2 separate regions of the Homo sapiens genome follow, and region 1 is linked to region 2. The links are contacts of gene promoters, found by promoter capture Hi-C in blood cells and fetal thymus (Javierre and others, 2016). All regions are on one chromosome and are shown on one strand. The core of a region is centred on a gene start or on the middle of the fragment in contact, and the rest is flanking DNA. Distances in the headings are between cores, read along the strand shown. Region 1 overlaps LL0XNC01-250H12.3 (a long non-coding RNA gene). Region 2 holds the start of TCEAL8 (transcription elongation factor A like 8).

Region 1 (4,051 bases), core at 276-2,775, 240 kb after region 2:
TGTTCTTTTTGCTCAAGATAGCTTTGGGAATTCTGGGTCTTTTGTGATTCTATATGAATTTTAGGATTGTTCTGTTTCTGTGGAGAATGTCATTGGTATTTTGATAGGGATTGTATTAAATCTGTAGATTGCTTTGAGTAGAATGGACATTTTAACAATATTGATTCTTCCAATCAATGAACATGAAATACTTTTCCATTTTTTGGCGTCATCTTCAATTTCTGTCATCAGTGTTTTATAGCTTTCATTATAGAGGCCTTTCACTTCTTTGGTTAATTCCTGTGTATTTAATTTTATTTATGGCTATTGTAAATGGGATTACTTTTAAATTTATTTTTTAGATTGTTCACTCTTGGCTGGCATATAGAAACACTACTGATTTTTGTATGTTGATTTTGTATCTTGCAACTATACTGAATTTGTTTATGAGTTCTAATCGTTTTTTGATGGAGTCTAGGTTTTTCCAAATATAAGATCATGTCATCTGCAAACAAGGATAATTTGACTTCTTCTTTTCCAGTTTGGATGCCCTTTATTTCTTTCTCTTGTCTGATTGCTGTAGCTGGGACTTCATCGTTGAGTTTTAGACATTTTCATCACCCTAAGATTACCCATCCTGCTTGAATGCAGTTAATCCCTGTGCCCACCCCCAGCCCTAGGCAATCACAGATATGCTTTGTTTCTCTGTGGATTTGCTTGTTTTTGACATTTTATATAAGTGAAATCAAACAATATTTGGTCTTTTGCATCTGGCTTCTTTCACTTTACATAATGTTTTCAAAATCTGTGTTGCAGCATATATCAGTTCCTCATCCATATTTATTGCTGAATATACCACATTTTATCCATGTATCAATTGATGAGCATTTGGGTTGTTTCCACTCTTTGGCTATTTTGAATGATGATCCTGTATACATTCAGGTACAAGTTTTTATGTAGGCATATTTCTTTTGGCTATGTACCTAGGGGTGGAATTGCTGTGTCATATGGTAACTCCCTGTTAACCATTTGAGGTATGGCCAGACTATTTTCATAAGCTTGATTTCATGAGAAGTACAGGCATAACTTGTTTTTCTCATTATTAGACTGAGGTTATGGGTTTTCAGAAGGAATACCGCAGAGATGAATTGCCCTTTTTATCACACCATATATGGGTTTACATGCTACCCATATGATATCAATGGTGATGTTAACCTTCATCACTTGGTTAAGGTACTGTTTGCCAAATTTCTCCAGTGTGTGGTAACTATTTTACATTCCTATACTCTTTTCTGTAGAAGTAAGTCACTAAGTCAGCCCTGTTCTTAGGAGGTAGAGGACAGAATTAAACTTCACCTCATGAACTGAGGGTTAGCCACATATATTGTTTAGAATTATTTGATTGAGACAATTTGTCTTCTCTGACCCATTTCTTTGTCAATGGAAACACTTAATTTATATCAGTATGGAATCATGTACACTTATCATATAGTTGTGATAGTTTACCAAATGGAAACATTCCAAAAGGAATTCCAGAATTATGATTTGTGTGGTGCAGTAGAAGAATTCTGACCTAATCAGGAGACTGCAAGAGTTCCCTCTATCTACTATTATATTTCACCACCATTATATTACCAAATTATGGCATATTAAACAATCAGACAATGCTTTTAGGCAATATATTTAACCACGACAAATTTTGAAACAACATTTTAATTTCAGGCGATTACATTGCATACTTAGTAATTCCTTCAGAAAGAAATAAAACAATAAACAGAATTTATTGAAGTGATCATAAAAATATTGCTAACATGCAGTAAATCTATTTGCAAAATTCCTTTTATTGAAGCAATAGTATGGGATATGTTGGGGAAATGTTGTACTTCAACTGATAGCACAGTTCCTGTAGCACAGCCTTCACGTTATCTGACTGACTCTTATGGAAGCTATTTTACAATGCTAGCTTTTAGGTAAATATAGCATTGCAATATAATCTTTGTCTATACAAAAGCAACTGAATTTTGTCATTGCGGGGGAAGCTTTGTCTCCATATAGATGTTCATTTTAACACTCTTGATCTATAAATGGGACAAAGGGGTGGCTGTTGGTTTTGATGGGGTTCATTTCAACAGAGGGGTGCGGGAACAAAGCACCATTAGATGAGGAATGAGGACTGAGGTGGAGGGAGGTGCAAAGGGATGTGAGTTGAGTATTGAGAATTCTTCATAGAACTTTGGTTGCAATGGGAGAATATATGTAAAGAGAACAGTAACTAGGGTTGTAGAGAGAGGTCTAGGGTTTTAAATTATGTTTTAAAATTATCAATGATAAGAGGCTCTCTCAGGGTGGAAATATTAAGGAGAAGGAGCCATCTCTTCTTAGGTCTAGAAACTGAGTTTACCACAACCCCCTTACTTCCTTGTTTCTATTCTGGGGAAGTCTAAAACTTAACCAGAGGGATGGTGTCATTTGACTTTAATGCCTGTTAACTATGGGGATGGATAGATGGATGGATGGATGGATGGATGGATGGACAGATGGATGGATGGATGCACGATGTGTCAAACAGGTGCTGGTATTTTATCTTCCAGCACTGAGCTCCTCACACAGGTGACTGAACCCGTGGTTTTGGTGTCTGAGAAGATGCAGCTTCTCCAGTCTCTGCAACTGACGGCAGGAAGATGGGAGCACTCAGCTTCAGTGTTCAGAAGCAGATTTAGGCCAATTGCCATACCTTACGTTCTGGAGGGATCCACCCTGACCTGAGCAGGTGAGGTCACAGAAAGGCTTGCTGTCCATCACAGGGACAGGATTACAGCCTGCTCAGAAGCATGTTGTGGTCCAGCTCTTGTGTCACTTAAAAAGACTCCAGCTCTTCTCTAATATTGAATTCAACTAATATCACAGAGAGATGTTCTTAATCTTCTAGACAAACACACTGCCATCAGTATTCCCCAGAGGCCACAAACACACCCTGGAACCATAATGCCACCAGTAGCTCTAGGAGAACTTGCAGGCTAATGTGCCTGTTGCTCATTGTTTTTAGGCTACATATGAAAATGGACCAGTTTGCAATAAAAATATAATGCAATGATGATTATCAGAGCATTTTGTATACTAGGGAATTTTTTAAGTTATCTGAACATCAAATTAAATATAATGACAATGAAAGAATTTCCACCTGTCATATCATCAAAGTATAAAAAGAAACCATTCAGGATTCCAGTAAGGTGGGCATGCGGGGAAGCCTACCCTGTTTCATATTGGTGGTGGGGATGTCATTTAGTACAACCTCTTTCAAGGTTGATTTGGTAATTTCTATTAAAGACTCTATGCATCCCCGATCTGCATGTGTTTGGGGCCTGCTCCTTCAAGTATTCACCCTCAGCATGGCCCCTGTCCCTCTGAGAGTGCATATTCTTCCTGATACAGGAACTGTCTGCGGACTCGTTTCTAAAGCAATGGCCCAGACACACTCCCTTGTCTACAGAGTAGGAAATTTAGGTCTGACAAGGTTCTCTGTCTTTCATAAGAGAGACAGAACTGGCAGCCTGGCTTCAGAGCTGAAGATACAGATTTCAGTAGTGACCCAGGTCAGCAGGAAAGCAAGATTTGCTTGGTTATGTTGTGATGTGCAGCTCAGCATCACAGTCTGCCTGGGGGCATATAGGATGCTAGTCTCTGCTTTTCCACTTAGTGGCAGGATGCTCCCCAGCCAGGTTGCTTAACCTGCAAACATCCCTGTTTCTTAAGCTACAGGATGGTGTAGAGATTATATCCTCTACCTCCCAGGAATGTTGTGGGAAATTCATGAGATAGAAAAGTACCAGCGTTCAGGAAGGGTGAGTCCCCACAGCTCCGTGAGGCCAGAGATACTGCCCTTCTGCGGGACTTTGTTACAATCACCCTATGACAATGCACAAATAAATGGTCATTCAATTACAAAAGAGTACAAGGACTTATATTTACTCAGTTCATCCAATATCAATTATTATAATAATCAACAGTGTAAATTGGAAAGTAACTACGTGGAAACCACTTCTCCTTCTTTCCCATCTAAGGTCTCAGAAGT
Region 2 (3,798 bases), core at 1,030-3,529:
GTATGCACAGGTGGGAACAAGATCTCACTGAGCACAGCTGTTACTGCCTCATTTCTTCCCCACTGCAGCCCTGTGAAGCAAATATTTTCCCCATGAAAAGACTGAGTCTTAAACGTGTGTATCTGTAATAATTGCCAGTTTATTCCTCTGGCTAAGAGATCCAGAGGTAATTTGAGGTTTACATTTCTTTTTAAAGTTCTTTCATCAAGAGTTTAGGTGCCCCCATTGCCCTCATAAGCTGGTTGCAAATTATTTGACTCTTACTTGTAAAAAAAATCCTTAATTCTTTTTGTGTGTGAGACACGTGTTCATTAAAAAGTACATATAAGCAAAAAGAACAAAAAGAAGAAAACAAATAAAATTTCACACCACACAGAAATAAGCTTGGTTAAGTTTGTGATATATGTTATATGGATGTATGTATACACACACGCACACACACAAAGTTTGGAATTTTATCCTACATATGTGAGCTGATATTAAATATGCTGCTTTGCCATAACCTGTTATGTTTTACTTTACAACATGGAATGAACATATTCCCATGCAAATGTGTGAAAGTTTCCAATTGAAAAATAGACCTGGAAAATGGGTCAAAATCCAAAATCCAATGAGATGCTGGTACCAAGGAAATTACCTAAAACAAAATTTCATCAGATGATTAAAAGTAAAATGGAGGTCAAAGATACATCAGAAAATGCTAACAGAAAGAAAGCTGGGGCCAGATTTTAATATTAGGCAAAAATGAATTCAAGGCCTAAAGCACACAGGATAAGGACGGCTGCGTGAATGTCTTTGCTTCCAATGCATCATCACAAACTTGTTTCTTACTCTTCTTATCTCTTCCCTAAGCCTTTCAAGCTCATCTACTCCTCTTATCATTTCTTCAGGGTCCAAATGCCTAACGGGTGTGTCCTCTTTAAATCCCTGGCCAGGCTGATTCGGCCCTCCTCTGGGGTTTCCTTCTGCTTCCTGGCTTACGCCTTCTTCGGAAGGTTGAGGATTTCCTTCTGCCTCCTGTGGTACATCCTCCAAAGGGCGATCTTCCTCGGCCTTTGGCATGTTCTGTGGTTTTCCCTCATTTTCTTCACAAGACTTTTGCATATTGAGTATTTTTTATTTCCTTTTTGAATAAATTAATCCTAGAAAACAAGGAAACAAAACTACTAGATTCCAGGCAAACAGACCAGCAGTCAGAGTATGGGGTCCCATAGCGACTGGCCTTTTTTGACTCAGTACCCTAATTGTCAAAAGTTTTCCAACTAGAGAAAGCTGGATCCTCAGGCTCAGAACTCCCCTGACTCCACCTCCCTTCGCGCCCCCTTTCGTTCCAGCTCCATCTTTCTCCTCCTGCTCCTGCCCACCATCTTCCCAGCAGGCCCTGCTACAAGCCTCTCCTAATACTGAAATGGGAGCAGTACGGAAGCAATTAACCCTTCTCCCGCCTCTGGTCTCCAACACTCCCGCCCTTCAGACTTTCCCAGGCCCTCTCAACCTCCAGCCTCTCACCTGAGACGGCTGGTCCAGTCTCTGGCCTCCCCTCCCCCTTCAGCGTCTCTTAAGCCTCCTCCTCCCCCGCCTCATTTCCGCTGCAGGCTCGGCACCGGCCTCTGGCACTTAATCCGGATGGGGAGGGGCTGCTGCGACCCCAGGATGTGCTTTGGTGTCACTCACACTTCCACCCCCACCCGAAGAGACCTGAAGCAATTGCACCTTTACAAAAACTGACCTGCAGGGATTCAGGGGATTTTCCTCTCTCTTCCCTCACCTCGATTTGTGTCGCGCCCAAAAAACCAAATATCCTGCAGACAGATGGGAGTGTTTGGTGAGCAGACTAGTACCTGGATCACGGGTCCCTTTCATGATTCTAGGCCATGTTGGTGTAAAGTTTCCCATGTCCTCATCCTCGCCCTCCTTTTATGGCAACCCCGCCCTCCTCCGTGCCCACCGTTTTTCTGCAAGCAGGGAGTAGGAAAAGCAAGTTTCTTCCAAACAGTTTCTATGTCTCTCTCTCAGGACCCTTAATTAGCTACCCTTCTCTCTCTCCACCCGCCATCCCCCACCAAACAGCCCCAAATTTCCTGCACAAAATGGGAGTTTGGCGGAACAGAAGTGGGGAAAGCAGTGCCGGCCCCGCTTGCTTTCTGCTCTCGGCCTCCTCGACCCCAGGGTCTCCAAGTCAGCGCCCACGTTTATACTAACCTGAAAGGATCTTGGGCACTTTTCTCCTTCTCCAGCAATAAGGAGCTGCTACAGGGAAACAGGCCCTGGACTATAAGGACTTCTGCACACGTCGACTCCTGGTCACGTGAGAGTCGCGTCATCACTGAGCTCGAGTCCCCAGTTACCCCTCCCATTAACACTGCAGCCCGCCCGCTGCGTTCCCTCCACTTGATACTGTCAATCTTTTTTCGTATTTGCCAATCGGAGACAATAAACTGTTATCTTCGCCCTGGAGTATTTATTCGCCTTTCTCAGATTACCAGGAGGATCAGCCTTTTAGGGGTAATCGACCATTTCTCCTTCTTTGAGGAATCATCTCTTTCTTCTGCTCCCAATACTCCCACCTCCCCTCCTCCAAGACCCCTACAGTCCACCATTTCCCCTGGAATCCTATCCAGCATTGAAATGGGCAAAGGTGGTAGATCGGGAAGAGGGGGCTGGAAAAGAATCTAAGGTTGAAAGTGGAGGATTTGACTAATCCTCTTGAATAGTTTTCTGTTGTGTTCTATGTTTTCAGCAATCAGCATACTTTTAAAAATGGTATCAGAAAACGGATGCCTCATAAGCAATATGTAACACTTAATATGAAGGACAAATTAGTTATATCAATGTGTAAGACTTTGGAAAAGTTTTCTAATGGCTGGAAATGAAATGACAATATTCACAACATATTGATGTGTTAGAATTTTTTAAAATCTTACCAAACAGCACTTAAAAAATTGACTCCCAAATTAATGTGTGGAAGGAGGCCTAGTTTTCTCTTGTTAGCAATTTTGTATAGGTAATCTACTACTCTTTCTATTTCTGGCAGAACTCAAGTTATCAAGTGTTGGATGTCTGATCTTTTTCATTGATGACCACTGGTGGCATCCACTAAGGTTTCACTTGGAGGCTTCAGACAGACTTCCTCCCCATTTCCTCTATAGGATTCAGTATCTTGTTAATCAGATAAGTCCACAGAAAAGCCTGCTTTCCACTGAGTAAAATTCTTTTGGAACTCAAAGTAGTATGTTTCTTGGAAAACATTTCGTTGTTGGGAAATAACTCATACACTCATGAAACACTCAGAAAAGAGAATTCTCTGTATCTCACCATCAGGCTTGAGGCTTCTTTGCATGGCATTTTCATTCATGGCACTCTTGAGATAGTCTGGTATCATCCACTGTGTCCCATTAAAAGAACTATTGACATGCATAATTGTTATGATTAGAAAGCAAAGAGAACAACATTGCTGTAAAAAATAATATTAAACAGGAAACTGATATCCCTGCAACTCAGAATCCACTGGTACTTGGAAGGATGGTGGTGCCTGGAGTGGCATTCTGGCCAATGGAGCCAGCTGGAGAGTCAGAAGAAGACAGAGGGGGTCTTTTGTCTAGGGTGGTCACAGCAGGATGCCTTAGCCAACAAGAACACCCACCAGAGAAGAGAAAAGAAGGTTTGGAAAAAATAAATATTTTTTGGACTTAATGATTTATAGTTGAAGCATGACAAATTTCTTCCACACTTGAGGGATAAATGTTCTATTGTTTGAGAGAGAGCTTTTAATATAAATATAACTAGCAAATTATAAAG

What was found. The method cuts DNA at HindIII sites, captures the fragments that hold promoters and counts their contacts. A CHiCAGO score of 5 or more calls a contact.
Region 1: a fragment that was not itself captured here is called in contact with the fragment with the promoter of TCEAL8 in region 2 in 2 of 17 cell types (megakaryocytes and naive CD4 T cells); the score reaches 7.2 in megakaryocytes.

The regions. Positions count from the first base shown.
Region 1 is chrX:103,494,865-103,498,915 of GRCh38, forward strand. All of the region lies in intron 5 of LL0XNC01-250H12.3 (a long non-coding RNA gene), which reads left to right. It also overlaps a transcript of RAB40A not described here. Among named protein-coding and RNA genes, the nearest start is that of RAB40A, 23 kb to the right of the region's middle. The HindIII fragment of the contact is 981 bases long and covers 1,036-2,016 here.
Region 2 is chrX:103,252,876-103,256,673 of GRCh38, forward strand. TCEAL8 (transcription elongation factor A like 8) reads right to left here and starts at 2,280. Exons shown (of 3, transcript NM_153333.3): 1 at 2,203-2,280; 2 at 1,730-1,802; 3 at 120-1,142. The coding sequence starts at 1,104. The coding sequence ends at 751. RefSeq lists an enhancer at 2,217-2,266. The HindIII fragment of the contact is 6,472 bases long and covers 382-3,798 here.